Linked DNA regions of Homo sapiens: region 2 is linked to region 1. Evidence: promoter capture Hi-C in 16 types of primary human blood cells and fetal thymus (Javierre and others, 2016). All regions are on one chromosome and are shown on one strand. Each heading gives the region's core, a stretch centred on a gene start or on the middle of the fragment in contact. The rest is flanking DNA. Distances are from core to core; before and after follow the strand shown.

Evidence for each region. The method cuts DNA at HindIII sites, captures the fragments that hold promoters and counts their contacts. A CHiCAGO score of 5 or more calls a contact.
Region 2: a fragment that was not itself captured here is called in contact with the fragment with the promoter of PDK2 in region 1 in 2 of 17 cell types (megakaryocytes and endothelial precursors); the score reaches 5.1 in megakaryocytes.

What each region holds. Positions count from the first base shown.
Region 1 is chr17:50,092,887-50,098,019 of GRCh38, reverse strand. It overlaps PDK2 (pyruvate dehydrogenase kinase 2), which reads right to left and starts at 2,669. Exons shown (of 11, transcript NM_002611.5): 1 at 2,467-2,669; 2 at 456-597. The coding sequence starts at 2,584. It overlaps LOC124904024 (a long non-coding RNA gene), which reads right to left. Exons shown (of 2, transcript XR_007065837.1): 1 at 4,441-5,133; 2 at 3,367-3,678. PDK2-AS1 (PDK2 antisense RNA 1) reads left to right here. Exons shown (of 2, transcript XR_007065842.1): 2 at 1-122. RefSeq lists enhancers at 1,238-1,753, 1,754-2,269, 3,301-3,510 and a silencer at 2,801-2,920. The HindIII fragment of the contact is 3,439 bases long and covers 382-3,820 here.
Region 2 is chr17:50,194,309-50,196,808 of GRCh38, reverse strand. It overlaps COL1A1 (collagen type I alpha 1 chain), which reads left to right. Exons shown (of 51, transcript NM_000088.4): 12 at 139-192; 13 at 281-325; 14 at 442-495; 15 at 610-654; 16 at 833-886; 17 at 1,144-1,242; 18 at 1,331-1,375; 19 at 1,479-1,577; 20 at 1,709-1,762; 21 at 1,981-2,088; 22 at 2,183-2,236; 23 at 2,362-2,460. Among named protein-coding and RNA genes, the nearest start is that of COL1A1, 6.1 kb to the left of the region's middle. RefSeq lists an enhancer at 1-468. The HindIII fragment of the contact is 9,239 bases long and covers 1-2,500 here.

The DNA of each region.
Region 1 (5,133 bases), core at 1,420-3,919:
TTTCCAACATCCAAAACAGTCTGTCTTGCAGCTTGGGTTATATAATGTATTTGAAAACTTACTTCTTGTTTCTGCTTCCCAAAAAGTTACCCCCAAATAAATACTGCCTAACAGTTACTGGAGTTCCAGGTCTGGGCTGCTGGCTAATGCTGACATCAGCCTGAATTGGGGTTTTGGCTGTGAAAACCATGCTTTCCTAGGTGGATCCTGTGTTTCCAGAGAAAGGTGGGTGGTAAGAAGAGGGCTAGACACAGAGACTAGGAGCTTGACCTCAGTCCTGCTCTGGCCTCAGATTCCCACGTGACCCTAGGCAACTCCAAGCGCTTGGGGCTTTGGTGTCTCCTGTCTGTCCCCACCCCACCCTCAAAGCTGCTAAAAGCTTGGAGATGCCATCCCTGAGCCCAGGGACACTGGCGATGGAGTGGGAGGTGCAGGGACTGAGCCAGGGGTCTCACCAGCTCTGCACCAGCTGCACGGAGGGTGTGCTCAGCACTCGGTCGGGAAGCAGGTTGATCTCTTTCATGATGTTGGCCAGGCGCACAGGCAGCTCCTGCCTGAGGAAGGTGAAGGAGGTTTTCTCACAGGCATTGCTGGATCCTGGCAGGAGAAAGAGGGGTGAGCCACAGAGCCACAGACTATGAAAGCCAAAGGATGTCTCGGCCAGGTCAGCTAAACCCTTCATTAACAGGGGGCTCAGAGAGCAAGTGACCTGCCCGGGGCACACAGCAAGGCTCCCCATCCCCTGCAGGGCTCAAACACCTACACCCCATGCCTAACACTTCAGGAGGTGTCATCCTCTCCTCATCCCCAGCTGAACCCTGCTTGCCTTTAACCACAGTGGACAGGGCCACTCCTGGGCCCATTTGGAGCTGCCTCTGGCCTCAGTCACCTCACTTCTCTTTCCTTCCCTCCCAGCACACTCACTTTGAGGGGCTGATTCCAGGGGACAAAGGAGCCTGGGAAACCCATCCCTACCTAGGACTGGGCTCTGGCTGAGGGGGGCTATGGCTAGACCACCACTGCAGGCTCCCAGTGTTGTCTCTGGCCAGCCCACCTCACCCAGCCTGGCCTGAATGCCCATGTGGGGCTGCTGTGTCTTAATGCCCATCCATGGGGCAAACGGGCCTGAGAACAGGAGTCCAAATGCCTCGGTCCTTGTCTGGTGTCAAGATGGAAAGGGTGGGGGACCGAATATGGCCTTGGCCCAGGGTCAGGGGCCCTGGGTTCCAGTCCATCAGGCTCTGCTTCCAACTCTGTCACCCAGGCCATGCCATCATCCTTTTGAAGGTCTCAGTTTCCCCCATAGTACTACAAGTTGACCAAACTCTACTGTGAGCCCCTCACAGCTGTGATGTTTCTGTAATTAGGGTGCAGTTTGTGGGGACAGCTGCTGGGGGCTAGGGGTGGGCCCAGGAGGCTTTCCTACATGGGGGAGGCTCAAGACTCAGGCAGGGCAGGGGTGCAGGCAGACAAGTCCTGAGGAACAGGTGCCTTATGTCTCGGCTGCCACCTCTCTGTTCCCGTCCCATCATTGACGCAGCTGCAACCCAAGCTAGGCACTATCAACTCAACTCTTGAGAGACTGCCCCCCACCCCCAGTCCCCAGCTGGCACCATGGAAATACCACATAGACAGACAGGGCCCACACAATGCCCATTTCAGCTGCCACGTTGGCACAGCCTCCCTCCTGCCCCAGGGCCACCCCCAGGTTGCTGGTAGTGGGCGATCCTGACCTAGCAGCCCTGGGGCAGCCAAGGGAGGTATAGGCGGCTTGACTCCACATCACGGTGCCTGGGGCCCCTGCCCAGCTGGGGAGAGGCTGCCAGGCCGGAACAGATTTGATCTTCAAGTGTCCTTGCCCACTGGGGCAGCTAGGGTCCAGCTCCTTCTGTGGGTGGATGTCTACCAGTCAGGGCACTGTCTCCCAATGGCATCTTCTGAAAGAGCCCCCTTCCCCAACTGCCCCTGGCTTAATCTCACCCTCTGCCCAGGGGTGTCTGACCCTTCATGCCCAGTCCAGGTCTCTCTACAGATGGCTGCACCTCTAAACCCTGCCTCCTCACTCCCACCAGCAGACCCCCGGTTTCCTCTGGTGGGAGGAGGGGCCCCTACTCCTCCAGTCATGAGGACAACTCCCATTAACCCTTTCGCGTCTGGATACCACCCTACTCCCTTCCTGCAGTAACATCACAGCTTCACTGCCCCTTACTCTTCAAGACCCTTCATGAGGCCCACGAAGAAACCTCGGGACCGTCCTTGTAAATGCCCCCCATTCCCATCAGCAGCCCCGTCGAGAGGCCCCGGCCGGTTCCTGCTTCCCCATTAACTCTTTCCTGCCTGTACCTTTCCAAACAACCCTTCTCTGTCACTCGGGGCCTTTCTTCTCCTCCGTCCCCCTAGCCCCCGGCTGCCCCTCCCAGCGCCCCGCCGGCCTCCGCTGCCAGCCGCCTCCCGCCCACTCCGTACCGAAGTCCAGAAACTGCTTCATGGACAGCGGGGACGGGGAGAACTTGCTGAAGTGCTCTATGTACTTGGGCGCCCCTGCCAGGGACGCATTCTTCAGCAGCGCCCACACCCAGCGCATGGCTGCGGCGGCCGCGACTTTGGTTGTGGTCCCCGCGCGGGCAGCGCTCGCGCACCTTTCGGCCCAGCGACGCGGTTCGGCCGCCTCCTCCCTACCCTTGCCCTGGCGGGCATTCCAACGCCCAGCCAATCGGCTCGTCATGGCGCCTCGACGTCGCCAATGGCCACTCACAAACAACTCCGGGCGAACCAATAGCCTTCCGCCCCGGCACGTGGCTTCCCCCGGGCCCGCCCCCTTAACCCACGCTTTGCCGGGGCGGCCTGTTGTTTTGGGGAGGCCGCGCCGAGTTCCCACCTCCCCTGTGTTCACTCCTCCCTTTCCTCCGCGGGGCGAAGCCCGGGTTAACCCCTTCCTTCCCAGAGCCCCGCCAGCCCTTTCGCTTCCTCTTCCACGCCTGCCTTTCCCTTGCTACCCCCTCGCATCTCCTTCACCTGCAGGCTCCTTTTAACCCTTCCTTTCCAGAGTTGTCTAGGTAGCTTTCAACCAATCCCTTTTCTCCAACTCAAAGGTACCTGTTTCACCTGTCATGATCGTTACCTATCCTCCCTTAACGGGTCTTGGGGATTCCCAGTCCGGATGACAGTGACCCAGACTGCGAATATTTGCAAAATTCGGAACCAGGGTGCAAGCCTATACGAATCCGTCCTGTATATATGCAGCCCACCCGCTTCCACAAAGATCCAAGCGGCTCAGGAAAAGGCGGAGTTTGCTTTTCCAACTGAAAAACATCCAGAGTAAAAACCATCACTACTAGTGGCGGTGGAGGCAGCAGCTATCGTCCATGCCAGTTAACACTTTCATTTTATTATACAGCTCATCTGACCGAACATAAAGCCTTGGACATCTAGCGCGACCACCTGAGAAAGCCACCTCCTTCGCACCGGGCTTCCTTAGAGCAAGATCCCAGGAGGTGAAGTGTCTCTGGGAGGCCCGGAGCCCGTCCTTCATCAGCGGCCCAGCTTCTCTTGGAGAAAATGTGACGCGCCCTCTTGTGGCCGAATGTGGTATCTCCCATCGTGGGTTTAGGGCCCGACCCGCCACTTTGATGCTTTCTTTGCTCGGTGACATTAGCCTAATACGTGTTAGGCTTTATGCTGGGAACAGGGAACACAGACAGGATCAAGAAATGGCCTTTTTCCTCGATGATTTCATTTCTAAGTTTCAGAGATAGCTACATAAGTAAATAATTAGCTATAACTGAATGTGATTGTAATACAGACCTCACAGAGCAAAGCTTCACATATGGAAGGGCCTCTTAGCTGGATGAATAATAAGCTATATGCCAGGCACTGTTTACAGGCATTATCTCATTTAATTCTCTATTTTATTATTCTTAGCCTCATTTCATAGATAAGAAAACCGAGACTCAGGGATCATTCTCAACTGCAAATCTGACCTTATTACTTCCTTGCTCACAGCCTTTCAATGGGCTATTTTTTTTTTTTTTTTTTTTTTTTTTGAGATTGAGTCTCCCTCTGTCGTCCAAGCTGGAGTGCAGTGGCACAACCTTGGCTCACTGCAAACTTCTCCTCCCAGGTTCAAGCGATTCTCCTGTCTCAGCTTTCCAAGTAGCTGGGATAACAGGCATGTACTACCATGCCTGGCTAATTTTTGTAATTTTAGTAGAGACAGGGTTTCACCATGTTGGCCAGGCTGGTCTTGAATTCCTGACCTCAAGTGATCTGCCCGCCTCAACCTCCCAAAGTGCAGGGATTACAGGTATGAGGCACTGTGCTAGGCCATCAATGGCTCTCTTCTTCTTACTGGAGCCTTTCCAGTTGTCACAAGTCGATTGACTTTTGCTTAATTCTCCAGACTCCTCTCTCTACATTCCCCCATGCAGCTCCCAGCCATACCTGTCTGCTGCCTTGAACCAGCCTCTAATCTCTAAGCCACTGCAAATGCATCTCTTCTGTCTGGATCATTCTTTCTTCCCACCTTCACCTGCCCATTCTTCAGGTCTCAGCTGCTTAGTCATCCCTTCCTCCTGGAAGCCTTCCTTGATCCTGCCAAGCTGGGTTATAGGCTCCCTTCAAGGGCTCCTTAGATCTCCTGGTCTTAGCAAATATTCGCAGTCTGGGTCACTGTCATCCAGACTGGGAATCCACAAGACCCCTTAAGAGAGGACAAGGAAAGATCAGGACATGTGAAACAGGTACCTCGTCGAGGAAAGGGATTGGCTGAAAGCTACCTGGACAAATCCAGGAAGGAGGGGTTAAAAGGAGCTGATGGTAGCTCTTATCAATTGAGTGAAAATTGTTTGCCAACTGATCTGTTTTCCCGCTAGACTTTAAGCTCCGTGAGGGCAGGGCAGGGGTTGTATCTGTCTTATTCACTGCCCTATCTCTAGCATCAGGCAGTACTCAGCACCTAGTAGGGAGGACAGGGTGAAAAAGAAGACAGGGCAAGCAGAGGAGCACACCACAGAGATATTCCAGAGAACCACCAAACATCCACTGGGCTAGCAATTAGGACGTGATTGATGATGCTGGTGAGTGCAGTTTTCAAGTGCACAGAATAATATATAGAATATTATGTACAAAAAAACC
Region 2 (2,500 bases), core at 1-2,500, 100 kb before region 1:
CAGTTGGGGTTTAGTCTAGCTCAGAAACAAAGGGATGGCGGTGATGACCTCCCAAGGCTCTTTCTCAGATCTAGGTGGATGTCAAGGCTGTTCCACCCCCTCCACAGGTTCTTACCTTCTACCTCTTTCCTGCTTTAGGGTTTCAGTGGTTTGGATGGTGCCAAGGGAGATGCTGGTCCTGCTGGTCCTAAGGTAAGAGGCTGTCTGAACATCATGGTCCTCCACATCCCCAGAGTCCCACCATGAATGAATTTCTCACTCATTATTCTCTGATCTACAGGGTGAGCCTGGCAGCCCTGGTGAAAATGGAGCTCCTGGTCAGATGGTGAGTGTGCCCAGTTCCAGAGGGCAGGGATGGGGCAGGAGGCAGGGGCAAGATGGAGGCCTGGGGGAACAAGGCTGTCTCCCATCTCATCTGACTTCTCTTGGTTTGGTTGTCAGGGCCCCCGTGGCCTGCCTGGTGAGAGAGGTCGCCCTGGAGCCCCTGGCCCTGCTGTAAGTACTCCTGGCCCCTTGGGGGATCCCTGAGCTCTGGAAGGGGCTCCCCAGGAACTCTAGGGACTGGCCAGTGCTCAGTGGACTTAACGGGGCTTCCCCTCTCTCCTGCAGGGTGCTCGTGGAAATGATGGTGCTACTGGTGCTGCCGGGCCCCCTGTGAGTGTGGCCTGTAGGCCTCAGGGCCTGGGAGTGGGGAGGGGTCTCAGTATCTGCTCTTGGGGCTGACAATGGGAGCAGGTTATGTTGGTCTGAACCCCAGGACTTCCTCTGTCCCAGGGTGTGACTTGCAGCTGCCATCTCTTCCTTCTCGCTGACATCTCCATTTCATTCACAGGGTCCCACCGGCCCCGCTGGTCCTCCTGGCTTCCCTGGTGCTGTTGGTGCTAAGGTGAGACCCCCCACTCTCCTCTAAGCATGACCCTCATGGGCCAAGGGGTTCATGTCTCCCTGTTCCCCAAACCAAAGGGACCCAGAGTGGCAAGAGAGCAGCCCGTTCACTAACACCTTTGTCCTGGGTTCTCCGTCTCTGATCTTAGAGTCCTGATCATTGCTCTCCTGTCCCTGTCTCCCCTTCCTCCTGCCATCCCGAGAGGCAAGGTTGGGTTTCCCAGGGTGGCTTCTGATATGTCCTTTCTTCTGATTCAGGGTGAAGCTGGTCCCCAAGGGCCCCGAGGCTCTGAAGGTCCCCAGGGTGTGCGTGGTGAGCCTGGCCCCCCTGGCCCTGCTGGTGCTGCTGGCCCTGCTGTAAGTGTCCCCGACTCAGTGTCCCCTTTGCCACTTTCTAACCTCAGAGTCCTTGCCTGTTGCTGACACTCCTTTCTCTGTGCCACAGGGAAACCCTGGTGCTGATGGACAGCCTGGTGCTAAAGGTGCCAATGTAAGTATCCTGCCAGGCTTCAGTCCCACTCCTGCCGCCTGCAGCCTGCCTGCCCCTTTCCCTCTGCTCCTAGGCTCACGCCCTGGCTGTCTGCCTCCCACAGGGTGCTCCTGGTATTGCTGGTGCTCCTGGCTTCCCTGGTGCCCGAGGCCCCTCTGGACCCCAGGGCCCCGGCGGCCCTCCTGGTCCCAAGGGTAACAGCGTGAGTACCAAACTCTCCCTTCTGCCCACCCCATGCACTGGCTCCAGTGCGGCTCTCATCTGGGGAGCAGGAAGACGCAGGCCAACTGAGCGCCCCCGACTCTCAGCTCATCCTCTTCTCCCCCCTTGCAGGGTGAACCTGGTGCTCCTGGCAGCAAAGGAGACACTGGTGCTAAGGGAGAGCCTGTAAGTCTCCCCGCCATCCTTCTTGCAGCCCAGCCCACCCTGCCCTAGGAGCCCCCTGAGGGAAATCCAGAAAGGAAGAGGAGCCCCTAGTCTTCTGGGGGAGTCCCTGCCACACCCCCAGGAACCCCTGACACTGGAGGCCCAGCCTCAGCCGGCTCTGAGGCTGGCACAGGATGGCCCCTCACCACAGGCCGCCTCCTCCTCTCGGCCCTCTCCAGGGCCCTGTTGGTGTTCAAGGACCCCCTGGCCCTGCTGGAGAGGAAGGAAAGCGAGGAGCTCGAGGTGAACCCGGACCCACTGGCCTGCCCGGACCCCCTGGCGAGCGTGTAAGTGTCCCTGCCCGCCCCCTCCCGCTCCACCCTCATTGCCTGGCTGGTGCCTGTGTGTCGCGGAGTTCACTGGCCTCCTCTCCTCCTGCAGGGTGGACCTGGTAGCCGTGGTTTCCCTGGCGCAGATGGTGTTGCTGGTCCCAAGGTAACCTCTCCTTGCGGCCGGGGGGCTGACCCTGCCGCTCCCTGGGCATCTTCTTCCTCTTTTGGCCCGTGGCAAAGAGCCACAAACTTGAGACCCTAACTGTTCCTGTGACTTCCCCCAACCAGGGTCCCGCTGGTGAACGTGGTTCTCCTGGCCCTGCTGGCCCCAAAGGATCTCCTGGTGAAGCTGGTCGTCCCGGTGAAGCTGGTCTGCCTGGTGCCAAGGTGAGGCCCCAGGCTTTCAGCCTGGCTTGGCCAGGCCCTG